2 separate regions of the Homo sapiens genome follow, and region 1 is linked to region 2. Evidence: promoter capture Hi-C in human tissues and cell types (Jung and others, 2019). All regions are on one chromosome and are shown on one strand. The core of a region is centred on a gene start or on the middle of the fragment in contact, and the rest is flanking DNA. Distances in the headings are between cores, read along the strand shown.

Region 1 (7,326 bases), core at 3,448-5,947, 640 kb after region 2:
AAGTATTTTTAATTATTCTATCTAGGAGATAATTGCATTCTCATCATGCTTTGGGCCTTTGAGAAGAGACACTGTCATGAGCATAAGCTATTTTCGTACCTGAAGGCAGCCTGATACGGTGGAAAGATCCTGCATACTAGAGCTAAAAACCTGAGTTCAAATCTTAGCTCTACCGTCTCCTGCACTGGAACTTATGCAGGCTTTTCAGCCCCCCTGAACTTCAGTTTCCTTGTCTATAAAATGGTTATAGTGATTTGTATTAATTAGAGTTGTTTTAAGGATTAGCTAAATGTACATCATCTAGCACGTAGCAAGCTCTCAATAAGTATTAGTTTTATAGTAGTAAATATAAAGGTGATAAAATGATTTTATAATGATAGGTTTAGTTATTGATAAGGTATAACCATAATAGGGATTACTGTGCAAATTACTACTGAAAAGTAATAACCACCAATTCATTATTTATCATTATATAAATAATTAGACTACTCTTCAGATCATTGTTGCTCTTGAAAGATAAGTCAAACTTGAGTTTGCTTTTTTGCTAAGAAAAGTAATCCAAGTTTCTTTACTTTCTGTTTCCAACATTTACATTTCTCCTCTGAATCTTCCAGCTGATCATGTCATTAATAAATAATGGATACTAAATTAACCCAGAGCTCACTGAAGGTCTGGTTAATTCTGTTCATGTGGAAAAGAGCATAATCATTACCGCATGGTTTTCTATCAATTAATTTCTTTTCTAACAGAATAACATTACTGACTTGTGTGATTGGTGGGTACCCTATGACTGACTGTTCTTTTTTGTCCTTTGGCTAGTCTTCAGCTTTCTTCTTTATAATTTTCTGCTTGCTTCTAAGTTATTTAACTGTATCATTCATTTCACTTATGACCAGGAAACACAAGAGGTGTTAAGTAGAAAATAGCTTAGTTTATTTCCTTGCTGCTATGATATATGTAGTAAAGCCTTGCCAACAAAGGGAAAATATGGTGTGACCAAATGGGTAAAACTTTATTCTCACGCCCCATCACCCTTGTTGCATCTAATAATGATAATAATGTGTACTAGGCCACTTTGTTACCAAGCAAAGATTTTGCCAAAATACACCATTACCACGTAGAAATAACATATTAAAATGAGTTTTCAAAAGGTGTACTTGCTGCTGTAGAAGTCATCTCTTTTTCTACGCTTATCTCTAAACATATTAAAAATTGTTATGCCATTAAAGTATGAAGCCCAACACCTTATAGCTCGTGAGTCTTTTTTAGAGCTTCATTGAGTGCTTCATTTTTCATTCATTGTGTGAATGAGCCCATGGTTTCTATACTTTTATATGTCTCCATTGTATTATTATGCAAACTTAAAAAATATCTTCCTGGGAAAAATAAAATATAAGCTAGTAAATTTCTTTGGTATAATTTTAATTAAATGTGCTGAAGACTGATGATGATTCCTTCTTTCCTATTGACTATATGAGAGTGTGTTTAGGTGAATTAAAAATACAAATATGTGTACTGCTGTTTCACTTTTTAAGGCTGACTGCCTTTAAAAGCTGGATTTGAGAGAACTAGCTTGGCCAGAGGATTTTAGATTAAATCCTCTAAATGCATGCCCGTTTAGAAGCTAAATTAACAAACTCTCTTCATCAACTTCTCAGGTTTTCTCTTGCATGCCCATGGTAGCTAGAAATATCACTAGTAGAACGGACAGAGTCTTTGACATAAATTTAGAAGTAAAACTCACATGTACTTATTCTTCTACGTAGTGTCTCTTCTTGCAGTCAAAACAGAGCCCTTGAACAGCAGTGAAACCACAGCCACGACTGGAGATGGAGCGCTTGACACTTTTACTGGGTCAGGTAAAGCCTTTAGCTCGTGTGTCCTTACGTACACATGGGGGTGCATCCACATCCTCCTCCTCGGGAATAAGCAACATAAGCATCCAAGCTCTTAGAACTTTGATCCTTATAAAGTTAGAAACAAATTCTTATTTTTTGAGAACTCATAGTCATAGCAGTATGCATTGTTATAAATTATATTTAGAATAATTTCGCTTGATATTTTAGTTGACAGCAAAAGTCCCATGACTTTCTTATTATGGATAAGTAAACTTAACTTCCTTCAAAATTATTTTATACGATGTTTAATTAATTTAATAATTAAGTTGTAGTAGCTGACCTTGCTTCTTCAACTTACCCATTTGAATTACATAAAAACTGCCTTCTGTTTAACATTCGAGATGTAAAACTATCCATTTGATTCCTTCTAAATAACCTTGTTTCCTCTCTGGGTTTAAAAAACTCCTCCTGTGTAAGCAGCTGAGTGACAAGTATTAAAGGTTAATGGGCTGCAGGAGAGCACATGCTGGTTGCATTAGAACCCAGCCTCTGAGAGCGCTCGAATGCTTCAAAGAGAACAATAGCATGTCTTTAAACATCAATCCCTTTAAAATATAAATACCTGATAACTCCCAGCTGGGCACAAAGGGCATGAATTAAGTAGACTTAATTAAATTTTTTTAAGTTACAATATTTCTTCGGCTTTTTATCTGGTGAAAGGATTTTTCTAACCTGAGGAGGATCGGGTACATCAGAAAGAAGAACATTAAACCTAGGAAAGTATTTGTGGTAATTGAATCTCGGTTCTGTTATTCTACTTTAATACATTTTACATTTATCCATGTGCTCATGTTATAAGGATTTTTTTGTCAGTATGTTTTGTGTAAAAATAGTTGAGATATGTCTTAGAGTATTATGTCATTATAGCATATATTTGATTTTTACAGATGATCTAATTTCACTAGTTCACACCGATTAGAAGCAGTTGCCATATATTTACATAAATATTAGTACTCCAAGAAAGAAATAATAGTACATAAACTTTGCACAGAGACTCATATGTACTAATCCACATCTTTTCTAGCAGTTTACCTGCCTCTCAGGAGATAGTTACCAGTTCAGTATTCTGTATTGCACACTTACCATAGCTTTTGTAAACTTTCTGCAAAATAAATCTATATGAACAAATTGTTAAGGAAAGGAATGGAGTTATTAACTTATTGCTGACCTACTTCAGTAGTATACTACAAGTTAATTGAAAGCTGAATGACAAAACTATAAAGTGTTAGCTCCAGAAGGAATTTCAGAGCTCTCTGATCCGTTTTGTAGACAAGAGAAGTTAAAAGTGGTTAAGGCCATACAGTCAAGGCCTCACAGCTGGTCAGTGGTATAAACAAATCTAAAACCATGTCCTTATGATCAGTCCCTGGGTCCTTTCTGTAATGCCCCATCAGAAAATAGATGGAAAAAGAAATAGGCATGAACAATCATCCTGTCTGAAATTCACTCATATTGTCTTTGTAGATATTTTCGCAAATTTTTAAAGAAGTATCTAGGGACGTGCTGTCCAGTAAGGTAGCCACCAGTCATATGTGGTTATTAAAATTTGATAAAATTAAAAATTTTGTTTTTTATTTTCATTTTCACAGCAATATTGCAGTAAGTATATTTTTATTAATTGATTTTGAAAATCATCAAGTACGACTAGAGGCGTTAAGTTCTCAATATTTTCAGCAACCAAAATTTAACTGAATTTTCAAGTTTAAACACATTTCAAGTGTTTAACAGCTGCATGTGGTTAGCAGCTACCATATTGGACAGCTCAGATACAGAACATTTCCAACACTGTGGAAAGTTTTATTCCACAGCAGTGATCCAGGGCAGGGATTATCAACATCAGCACTGTTAAAGACTTGGGCTAATTCTTTAGTGTGGGAAAGCTATCCTCTGCACTGTAAGATGTTTGGCTGCATCTATCCCAGAATGCCAGCAGCACTCCCCCAGATGCTTCTTTACTAAAGAAGCAACCAAAGATGTCTTACTAAAGACAACCAAAAATGTATCCAGACTGTTTAAGTGTCCCCTGGCAGGCAAAATTCTCACCCCCACCCACTTCTCATCCCATTGAGAGTCACCAATCTAAGATGGCACGATAATGAGAATGAAACCTTAAAATTGCTTTGACACCATCAGAGAAACTGACAATAGATATTAAACATGTATTTAAATTAATTTTCAGGGCATTTTGAAAACAAGCAGTTTTGCTTACTGTTGTATGCAGAAATGATGGAATGTAATGAGTGTTTTGGGTAATGTTTATGATTAATCAGATGACAGTGGGGAATAAAACGAAATTCTTTCAAGTTTGTACAAGATATTCCAGAAACCATTCTGGAAATGAGGCTGCCCTTTGTGGGAGCAGTCTTTACTTTGATCTGCAAAATTTCCACTCACTTTAATCCAATTTTGTTGTTCTTTTCAGTTATCTGCAAATTTCTGAATTAGAACAAAATGTATATATTTTAGTAAAGAAGCATAAACTTTCCTACGTGAACATCGTAGTTTTCTGAGCCAAAGGTTTTCTGTTCTATTTAGAAAATGAACATATAGACGTTAATAGAAATTTGTAAAGGTTAGTTGAGGCTTTATAGTGTTGTGAGTACATTATTCTAATGATGTTTAGATTTATCATTAGAAGAAACATCCTATATATTCAGAATTGAGTTCATGTATATGAGTTTTTTCTGAAATGTGTAATTTTGGTCTATGTCTTATTTATAAAAGGTTACTATAATGAATATTTATCTTCATGATTCAGCGTCTCTTTGGAAAAGCCTTCTATTTCACAATATTGATAATAACTGATGAGTATAGCCCAAGTCTTGAGTGTACCAAGGAGAAATTCTGTAAAGAAGAGACGAAAGAATATTTAATCAAGCGTCATTTAACTATATTTCTGTTAGAGTATTTGGTATTGTTAATCGATAAATTAGAATGAATATCTTTGGAATAACACTACTATTATGAAGTGCACATTTAATGTCCATTGTGTAGTAGAACAAAGAGTCTGTTTTCATTAAGTTGATTTGAAAATTTAAAACGTTCTTTAAGTTTTGATAAATATGTAGAAAAGTAATAGTTTATTGGTCAATTTATTTTCAACGATACGTATCAAATTCAGTTAAATTCTGGTTGCTGAAAATATTTAGAAGTAACACCTTTAGTCAAATTTGATGATTTTCAAAATTGACTGATAATATTCTTAAAAATATACTTACTTCATTATCGCTATGAAAATGAAAATATTCTTTCCATATTCAGAGCTTATAGGCAAAATAGCATTTTAAACACATTAAATGATGCATGTTTGTGAAGCAGATCACAAGGGTTCTTGTGATATATATAGAAATATATCATGTTTCATAAAATAGTTAGCAACCTAAACCTATTTGTCACTTTTACAATTCTAAAAGTTTCGCTCCAGAATTATTATGAACAACTCAGAAAGGACATAGTACTTTGAAGTATAACTATGATTGATTAGACTAAACTAATTCCAGCACTGCATTGTGTACTACTTTAATCTTTTTGAAAAGTGAATGAACAGCAGATGGCCTAATAAAGACACTCTGTGTGCTCGCTCAGTGTGGATTGGCTCTAAGGGAACTGGCTCACACTTTAGAGTCCATATATTTGCAAAACATCTGTCTTAGTCAAGGCAGATAGTTAAAGGAAAGAGAAACTTCCAAGCTATTGGATATATTCCAGTTTGGGGCTCCATGTTTGGATGAACTGTTAATAGGACCTCACTTTCACCTTTAAGTTCTTCTCAGAAAAGTATTATCTCTAATAGTTCAAAGTATATTTGTAAATGTAATTGCTACTGCATTTTGTGATTATGTTTTAAAGAAATCACCTGCACTTTCTTTAATTATTACTGGAATATTTTAGACTGCATTTTTTAATTGTTCATCTGATGGGTAAAATGAGAGGAAATAGAATAAAATAGTATTTTACCATTAGAAAATGAAGTTTGGAACATCACAGTCTTATTTTGTATTGTATTTGAATTAGAACAGATATGGAGGAAGAGCAATATGTATATATTGCCATCATATTTGGTATTTTAAAATGTAAAGTTTGCAAATTTTAAAAATTTACTTTTATATTTTGAAAGCTTAATTACCCTATAATCAAAGATATTTATTCATAGCATATTAATATATAAGAGCATGCTAATGATTTGAGAAACTGGAAGAATGACAGAGGGAATGATTTGTGAGACAAATGTTTATTTCATGCTTTTTGCACAAAACTCAAAGCAGTTTAATTAGGAGAAAGTGTTTAGGCAGCTGTTTCCTTTTAGAAAATGAATTTCTGGAAACATGTATTTAACATGGTAATTTCTTCAAATTGGTTATGTACACTCTAGTGAAATGTATTTATGAAGCAACCTTTGGTGCACTGGTATTTTTGTGTCTTACAGTAATTACAAGTAGTGGCTACAGCCCCAGATCAGCACATCAGTATTCCCCACAGCTGTATCCTTCCAAGTAAGTGGTCAGTAGATTCTTGCTTTAAATTGGCAAACATTTATGTCTATACATGTTTTATAGATGGTTGGATAATACTTGGATAGATTACATATATAGATAAATATCCTGTACAAATTTGAAATGGAGACACCCACATGTATCTTGATGATTCCCTTGAATATTTATGTATACCTTGAGAAAAATATCAAGCTCAAATTAGAATACATTGCATTTTAATTCAAATTCAAAAATGCTGGCTGGTTAAAAAATCTAAAGAGATTACATTTTATCTAAATGTCAACACTTCATAATTAATTCCATCATTGAAATTCTTTTGTTGGATTTCCAGTTCTAATAAACATATTTTTGAAGAATATGCCTTATTGTTTTTATAACTAATATAGTCACTTTATTGAGGACAGTGGTAGATATTTCTTAAGTTTAACTATATTGGGTGTATATCTGAATTGGTTTGGAATCAGCCAGACGTGCCAAGATTTTGTATTGCTGATACATACACATTTAAATATAGTATGTTATTTTCTGCAGCATCTAGAGTGTCTGCCTTTACATATATATAGACTGAAGGTTGGATATCCAATGGGGAACATGATGTAAAATGTGGCATGATGAAAGGAATGATGTTCCTTTTTTTTTTTTTTTTTTAAGGAAGCTTCCTACCTTTCTTTTTCTTTTTTTAAATTTCCAATTCTTGGGAGCGAATTCTTAGTAGGGCTTTTAAATAGACTTCCATAGTCTTTGCATAGCATTAAGTCACTCATGGTGAGTGTGAATTTGCTCATGAGCATATTAATTAGCTAGTGTGTGCTCCATTTTCCTCATCTGTGTATTAACTGGAGTGCTATTTCAGATATGAGCAAGAATTGTAGACCTGGAAGAGACACAGGTGTAAAATCTAAATCAAATTTCTACTTTTACAGGTGTGGTATAGA
Region 2 (7,257 bases), core at 528-3,027:
TTTGCCCCTACACTTTCATCCATTTAGAATACCCTCCTCTCCTTCCATGCTCACCGATTTGGAATCTCTTAGTTTTTGTTTTGAGCCTGTTTCGAATGCTGCCAGAAGCCTGAGGTCCTCTTACCTTTTCACACCATCCCCACTCCCTAACCCCCTGCCACTTTGTATCTCCTCTGTGGCCCTGAGGTATTCTGATTTTTGTCTAAAATCTTAATCCCACCACAAACAAACCAGGGCTACAGGAATGAATCATCTTTATAAATTCCTCGTTTTTTTTTTTTTTTTAAATCAAAAGCTCAATAAACATTTGCATGAGTTACTGACAGAGAAGCAGCTTCAACGCTTTAAAAATGAAACTGAAACCAGCGGAAAATCTAAAACTGAACTCTATCAGTAAACTGAACTCTATCAGTTTATTAACATTACAGCAGGTCTCTGTTCTGGTGAACTCCCTGGTGCTCTTACTGCGTTACCCATTTTTGTTTTTTTCGCTGCACTCACCAGTCTAACAGTATCTGCCCACTGGATTCACAGCGCTGGCACGTGCCAAGCGCCTAATAATTGCTCACTGGTTTGGCGGCTGACTACCCAGGAGAGGAAATTAAACACAAAGGCAGTATTGATCATATTCAGTAGTGTTTCGTGCGTTTGGTTTGGAAGTGGGGATTGGGGAATGGCCAATCACTTCCAAATTTAAAATATTGCTTCCTGGAAGAAAATGGACTCCTCAAAGACTGGATATTTCATGTCTGTAGTCCCAGGACCTGGCCCTGCGTCAGGCACATTGTAGGTGTTGAAAATGCACCTGAGGAATTCTGAGTTGCGCGGAACTGTGTATTCCGAGCACAACGCGTCGTTAAAAACCAAACAAAGCAGAACAAACTTCGTTCAGAAGCGACTCCCGCTATACTTAGAAACTAGAATTGACCCCTGGCTGCAGGGTTCCGCTTTACCAACACACCGCAGGGAAAGGGCTTAGAAATAGTGAAAGCGGCCGGGGGCGGCGGGTCACGCCTCTAATCCCAGCATTTTGGGAGGCCGAGGCGGGTGGATCCCCTGAGGTCAGGAGTTCGAGACCAGCCTGGCCAACATGGTGAAATCCCGTCTTTACTAAAAATACAAAAAATTAGCCAGGGTGGTGGCAGGCGCCTGCAATCCCGGCTACTCGGGAGGCTGAGGCAGGAGAATCGCTTGAAACCGGGAGCCGGAGGTCGCAGTAAGCTGAGATCGCGCCATTGCACTCCAGCCTGGAAGAGTGAAAGCATGTAGGCTCTCGTTTCATGAAGACAAAGATGAGGATCACACCCACAACGACACAAACATGGTCTCTCAGGGTGACTTAGAAGCGAAGGAACAAAGTGCGCTGCCTGGGGAGGCTGGGTCTTGTAGAAGCAACAGGAAAGTAGAACGTGGTGTGGAAAGGGTTAAAACTGGCGCTCGGCGGGATACAGGGCTCTAGGTGCCTTAAAGAACACGCGGACACACTTGTTTGGCTTCTGTCGCGCTCCGTAGAATGAGTTCCCTGGGCCTCGGTGGGCCACGCCTCCGCAAAGAAGGACAACGCGAAGCTGCCCGCGTAGTGCCTGTTGCACTCGCCAAGGACCGGCCTGGCAGAGATAGAAAACTCGCAGTACGTTTGCCTCAGAACCGCCTCAATCCGGAAACAGAAACTCCCCAGGCCCGGCACTGCGGGAGCCACCTCTTTCGAGGGTGGGAGTGCACATGCGCACAGGGGACCTGAAAAACCCTTAAATACCGGCATGCGTGCGGATGAGGCCTCTTTCCCTGCCGCCGCCGAGTCGCGCGGAGGCGGAGGCTTGGGGTAAGTTGAGCGAGGCGGCAGGGGGGTGTATTGGTTATAATTTGTGGCTCGTTGCGTTCTTGCTGGGATTCGTGACGAGTATCTGGTTCTTTAACAAGTCAATGCTTTTGTTTTTTAGTGCGTTCAAGATTCAACTTCACCCGTAACCCACCGCCATGGCCGAGGAAGGGTGAGCCCAGGGGCCGGGGTTGGAGTTGGGGTCGGGGTGCGGCTGAGGCGTGGGGCTAGAGCTGGCGGAACAGGACTGGGTCAAACGGGTCGCCGTAAGCGCGTCTGTTGTACACTTAGCTTTTGCTGAGTGCAAGGCCTTATGTGGTGTGAGGATTTTAACTGATGGTTCTGATGTGTCGCGTTTAAGCATTGCTGCTGGAGGTGTAATGGACGTTAATACTGCTTTACAAGAGGTTCTGAAGACTGCCCTCATCCACGATGGCCTAGCACGTGGAATTCGCGAAGCTGCCAAAGCCTTAGACAAGTACGTGTATCAGTCTCAATACTGTGGGTTCTTGCAACCGGAACAAAACTGCCACCCAAGGGAAGAAGGCATGGAGTTCATGGTGTTAGCGCAAAAGTTCTGAATGGCATCCGTCCTACCGGAAACCTAGGAAAAGGTATCAGAACTCAGATCTATAAAGCCCACTTAAAATGTGTGGGTTGCTGTTTGGAATGGGGATAAGCACTCAAAACTACAGTGTTTGAATGATGACTTTAATTGTCGGATACCCCTTCACTCCTTTTATGAGTGAAACATAAGAGTCTGACAAACCTGTAGGTTGTGGAGCTAGTCAGTCTTATACTTATCTGGCAGATAGATGAGATGGAGAGCCACATTACATCTGGTAGTTTGCAAAACAAGCATTAATTTAATGGAATTTCAAACTCAGGTTTCAGAAGCATTTGGTCCTAGATGAATTTAGTAGTATAATAGCTGTGATTTATTTGAATTTGGGATATTTGTTAATGTATTTGAATGGATCGAGTTAATGTGTTTTTTAGGGTGGTGGCATTGACAAATCAACCTACTCTTGAGCTGAATTTAAATGCAGTTTTAAGGTTTTACAGGACAAGTTCGTTTTGGTGTAATCTAGCCAGTTCAATCCGATGGAAACGGCATTATTGTTTAATGTATTTAGTAGGTCCTAGTATGAGTCTTCTGTATTTCTATTTCGGCATTATTGCATGGCATTTCATAACTGTTCCATTAATGCCACAGTCTTTTTTTTTTCTTTTTTCTTTTTTTTTTTTGAGACAAAGAGTCTTGCTCTGTCCCCCAGGCTGGAGTGCAGTGGCGCGATCTCATTGCAACCTCTACCTACCAGGTTCAAGCGATTCTTCTGCCTCCCGAGTAGATGGAATTACAGGCACACGCCACCATGCCCAGCTAGTTTTTGTACTTTCAGTAGAAACGGGGTTTCGCCATGTTGGTCTCTGGCTGGTCTGGTACTCCTGACCTCGGGTCATCTGCCCCCCTCGTCTTCCCAAAGTGCTGGGATTACAGGAGTGAGCCATCGTGCCCGGCCTTTCACATGTTTCTTTAGGTATATGAAGCTGGCTTACAAGAAAGCTATTATGGTTGGGTTTTGGCCAGAAGTTTTAAAAATGACTTACACCAATTCAGTGTGTCAGGGACAGAGGTTTTACTGAAGACCAGTTGTAGGTTAATTGAAGATGTATATGCTCCCTAGCAGGTTCTTCAGACTCAAGCAATTTTGTACGCATTTATGTGTTCAGTGGATTGGCTGCTTATGTTTCGCAAGTGTTAGTGCAAAGATAACCCTCCTAAAATGCAAGAATGATGGATTTGGATCTGAGTTTTAGCTCCATTTTCATTGTAATTTGAATTTCAGGCGCCAAGCCCATCTTTGTGTGCTTGCATCCAACTGTGATGAGCCTATGTATGTCAAGTTGGTGGAGGCCCTTTGTGCTGAACACCAAATCAACCTAATTAAGGTAAGGCTGCTAAGGATTGTGTTGGGACTAATGTTCAGTGATGCTTGTATATGGGGGTAAATTCTGTGAAGTCTCAAGCTGTTCATTTTGTGCAGGTGTAAACATTACGTGCACCTGATACTGTCGGCCATTTTAAAGATGATTGTAGGTAGAAGCATTTTATACCTGCAGAATTGAATCCTAATTTTGACGTTGGTATACAACAAAGATTAGTAGCAGGCTTGTAGGTGATCTTAGTGCTGTACATGATGACAACTGGCTCCCTCTACTGAACTGCCATGAGGAAACTGCCATGTCACCCTTCTGATTACAGCCACCTTTTGGGTTTCATTTAATTTTGGTAGTGTTAATGTCTATTAATGTGATTTTTTTTTTTTTTAACCTTTCTCCCAATAGGTTGATGACAACAAGAAACTAGGAGAATGGGTAGGCCTTTGTAAAATTGACAGAGAGGGGAAACCCCGTAAAGTGGTTGGTTGCAGTTGTGTAGTAGTTAAGGTAAGTCACCGTTTATTCTAGGGATGAAGGTTATGCTGGGTAATCATATAAAACCTTGTATTGAAATAAGTTGAGGATCTTATAAAAGGAAAAAACTGATTCAACAGGTTTAAAGCATTTTCTGCATTTCAGGAAAAAAATAAAAGCTGTAATTTACAAGCCAGCCAATGAATCTGCTTACCTGATTGTGTTTGTGCAGACATACTTTAAAAACTGGCAATAGTAAAGCCATGTTACGAGCCTTAAGGACATTGAAGTCGTTAAGGTCCCTGAGAATGGCTATAACAAATCTTAGTGATGGGAAACATTTTTATAAGACATAGCTAATTGTTGAAGCTCCACTATAATTGATACTAATAGCTTGGTGAAATTCCTAAATATTAACAAGAAATTGCATGCGTGTTTTGTTTTTTTTAAGGACTATGGCAAGGAGTCTCAGGCCAAGGATGTCATTGAAGAGTATTTCAAATGCAAGAAATGAAGAAATAAATCTTTGGCTCACATTCCTCATGTCTGGCTTTTTATTTGGGGCAGTAAAATAAGGTCCCTGTTAGCAAAGTAAAATGTAATCATCGCAAAGTGATTGCTACAGATTAACTGGAAACTTGCTCTCAAAGTCTTCTCCCCAGCCAATGACTGCATCATGGGGCAATTCAAACCTGGACAGCCTTAGCAAAGATAGGTCTGCCATGCAGTGTTGGTGATGGCCAGGATTACTTAGCTATGGGCATTTATCCCTCACTAGACTAGCCTAGAATTTGGAGAGAGAGGTTGTGTTTTTAATAGATTGCAGTCTATGAAAGGACAGTGAGTAGACTTGCTGGGCAGGTTAGTAGAAAGTACACAGTTGGGCCAGGATCATATCTTGCATGTGGGACAAGTGTTATGATACCCAGGAATGCTTGTGGACATTCGTTTGACTTCTTTGGTTGGAGACGGAGTTTCACTCTTGTTGCCCAGGCTGGAGTGCAATGGCGCAATCTTGGCTCACTGCAACCTCTTTGTCCTGGGTTCGAGCGATTCTCGTGCCTCAGCCTCCCAAGCAGCTAGGATTACAGATGCCTGGCAATTTTTTTGTGTTTTTAGTAGAGATGGGGTTTCACCATATTTGGCCAGGATGGTCTAGAACTTAGACAGCAGGTGATCCACCAGCTTCAGCCTTCCAAAGTGCTGGGATTACAAGTGTGAGCCACCATTCCTGGCCTTTTGTGCAGGAGCGAGAGGGGCTTGAATGCACCCCAGTCCCTAGAAATCGCAGTGAGAGAAGCCATGGCTGGTGTTTGGTGTATTTTAAACTTGGATAAAGGTACCGTTAAAAGAATGTTGTGAGGCCATATACTTGGCCAATCCTGGTTTTGAAGACTATACCAAGGTTTTTCTTTGCGTCTTAAACCTTGATTGAGAATCTCCGAGTAGGGTCTCCCGTACTGGTTGGTTTGGTAGTTATAGCTAAAGCTGGTTGACCTTAGCATGGTAGTGACATTGAGTACCCTCATGGAAAGCAAGGAGCTCTGAGAGATTTTTTCTGAAGTGTGTATAACCTGGAACTGTGTGTTAACATTGAAATTGTCAACCTCATGTACTCTGGCTTTTCTGAGGAAAGTTCACTTTGAATTCTAGTTTCCTTGTATGACCAATCTATGTAGACATTTTTGAGTGCCTGTTGCATATTTTTTGGTGGAGATGGGGTTTCACCACATTGTCCAGGCTCAGATTTTTTTGTTTTGTTTTGGTGTTTCCATGTCCACTGTCATCTCAGCTGCAAAACACCAAAGTCAGAAGGAATGTTAATCTCCCAAGTTTTTTTGTTGTTTTTGTTTTGTTTTTTGAGACAGTCTTCACTCTGTCACCCAGGCTGGAGTGCAGTGGCACGATTTCAACTCATTGCAACCTCTGCCTCCAGAGTAGCTGGGATTACAGGCGCATGCCACCATGCCCAGCTAATTTTTGTATTTTTAGCAGAGATGGGGTTTCACCATGTTGGCCAGGCTGGTCTGGAGCTCCTGACCTCAGGTGTTGGATTGGCCTCCCAAAGTGCTGGGATTACAGGAATGAGCCACTGTACCTGGCCCCAAATCTAACCTTGAACTCTGCATCTTCCCTTACTGTTGCTCTGTGTTTGCTCCAAGTCATTAAAATGTCTCCATCCTCAGACTTTGTCGGTTTTCTGGCTGTTGTCCTCCAGCAGCTTCTGGTCAAATGCAGTGGCTCAATCACAGCCTTTTCCTGACCTCCAGGATTTTAAGTACTGTTGTGTTAGCATTTTGACCTTTACCACATTTCAGTTCTTTCTCTTATTCTGCCTGTGCTTTCAATTGTAATAGTTTCCAGAGTTCAGGTGAGCATGTTTGCTTCTCTGCAGCCTTCCTGAGACATTCTCCCACTCCCACAGCTTCCCCTGATTCCCAAGTCTATTTTGTTTTCTTTGATCAACTCTAAGCTGTACCAGACAATTTCCCAAGGAAGACCCACTTGCTCTTCAAATTTTGCGTGCCTTGAAGTGAACTTTACCATCACTAACATGTTTTTGTTAGAGGAAAAGAAAGCTGACTGTGTGGTATGCACCATACTGCATTCATTATCACTTGTTACTGCGTACCACTTTCCCAAGCCAAAGGCCTTGGCATCCTCAACTCCTACCTGCGCTGTATAGGTCTTACTACTGTCAGTCTCATCCAGATGATTTTCAAGACATGAGTCACTCCACTCCAGTTACTCATCCAGACTTCTGAGTTACAGTTATTGAAAAGTGATCATGTCCATCTCTTCATAACTTTGGTTTGTTCTGTTTGAAGTACCTCTACTTTTCTCCATCTAGATATCTCCTACTCATTCTTCAAAACTCAGTGCAAATGTAATGTCGGCTTCAGAGTGTGATTTGCCTGTGTAGCTTATATGGAATTCACTGGGGAGCCCACTGAAGCAAAAGTGCCAGGACAGAAGCAGATGTCTTCATTGTTTTATGGGGGAAAATTGTTTTATGACAT

Evidence for each region. The method cuts DNA at HindIII sites, captures the fragments that hold promoters and counts their contacts. A contact is called where the count stands out against the background at its distance.
Region 1: a contact is called between a fragment that was not itself captured here and the fragment with the promoter of RPS12 in region 2, in 1 of the 25 tissues and cell types used here (dorsolateral prefrontal cortex).

Annotation. Positions count from the first base shown.
Region 1 is chr6:133,454,790-133,462,115 of GRCh38, forward strand. It overlaps EYA4 (EYA transcriptional coactivator and phosphatase 4), which reads left to right. Exons shown (of 20, transcript NM_004100.5): 6 at 1,767-1,859; 7 at 6,325-6,391. EYA4-AS2 (EYA4 antisense RNA 2) reads right to left here and starts at 1,816. Exons shown (of 3, transcript NR_199014.1): 1 at 1,745-1,816. The HindIII fragment of the contact is 3,665 bases long and covers 2,866-6,530 here.
Region 2 is chr6:132,812,792-132,820,048 of GRCh38, forward strand. It overlaps RPS12 (ribosomal protein S12), which reads left to right and starts at 1,778. Exons shown (of 6, transcript NM_001016.4): 1 at 1,778-1,822; 2 at 1,941-1,991; 3 at 2,181-2,297; 4 at 3,670-3,772; 5 at 4,169-4,270; 6 at 4,689-4,773. The coding sequence starts at 1,978. The coding sequence ends at 4,751. SNORD101 (small nucleolar RNA, C/D box 101) reads left to right here and starts at 2,516; the gene lies at 2,516-2,588. LOC107986644 (a long non-coding RNA gene) reads right to left here and starts at 1,497. Exons shown (of 3, transcript XR_001744345.3): 1 at 502-1,497. It overlaps SNORD100 (small nucleolar RNA, C/D box 100), which reads left to right and starts at 4,011; the gene lies at 4,011-4,086. It also overlaps SNORA33. RefSeq lists enhancers at 244-313, 743-1,489, 1,404-1,683, 2,114-2,243, 6,708-6,757. The HindIII fragment of the contact is 14,605 bases long and covers 1-7,257 here.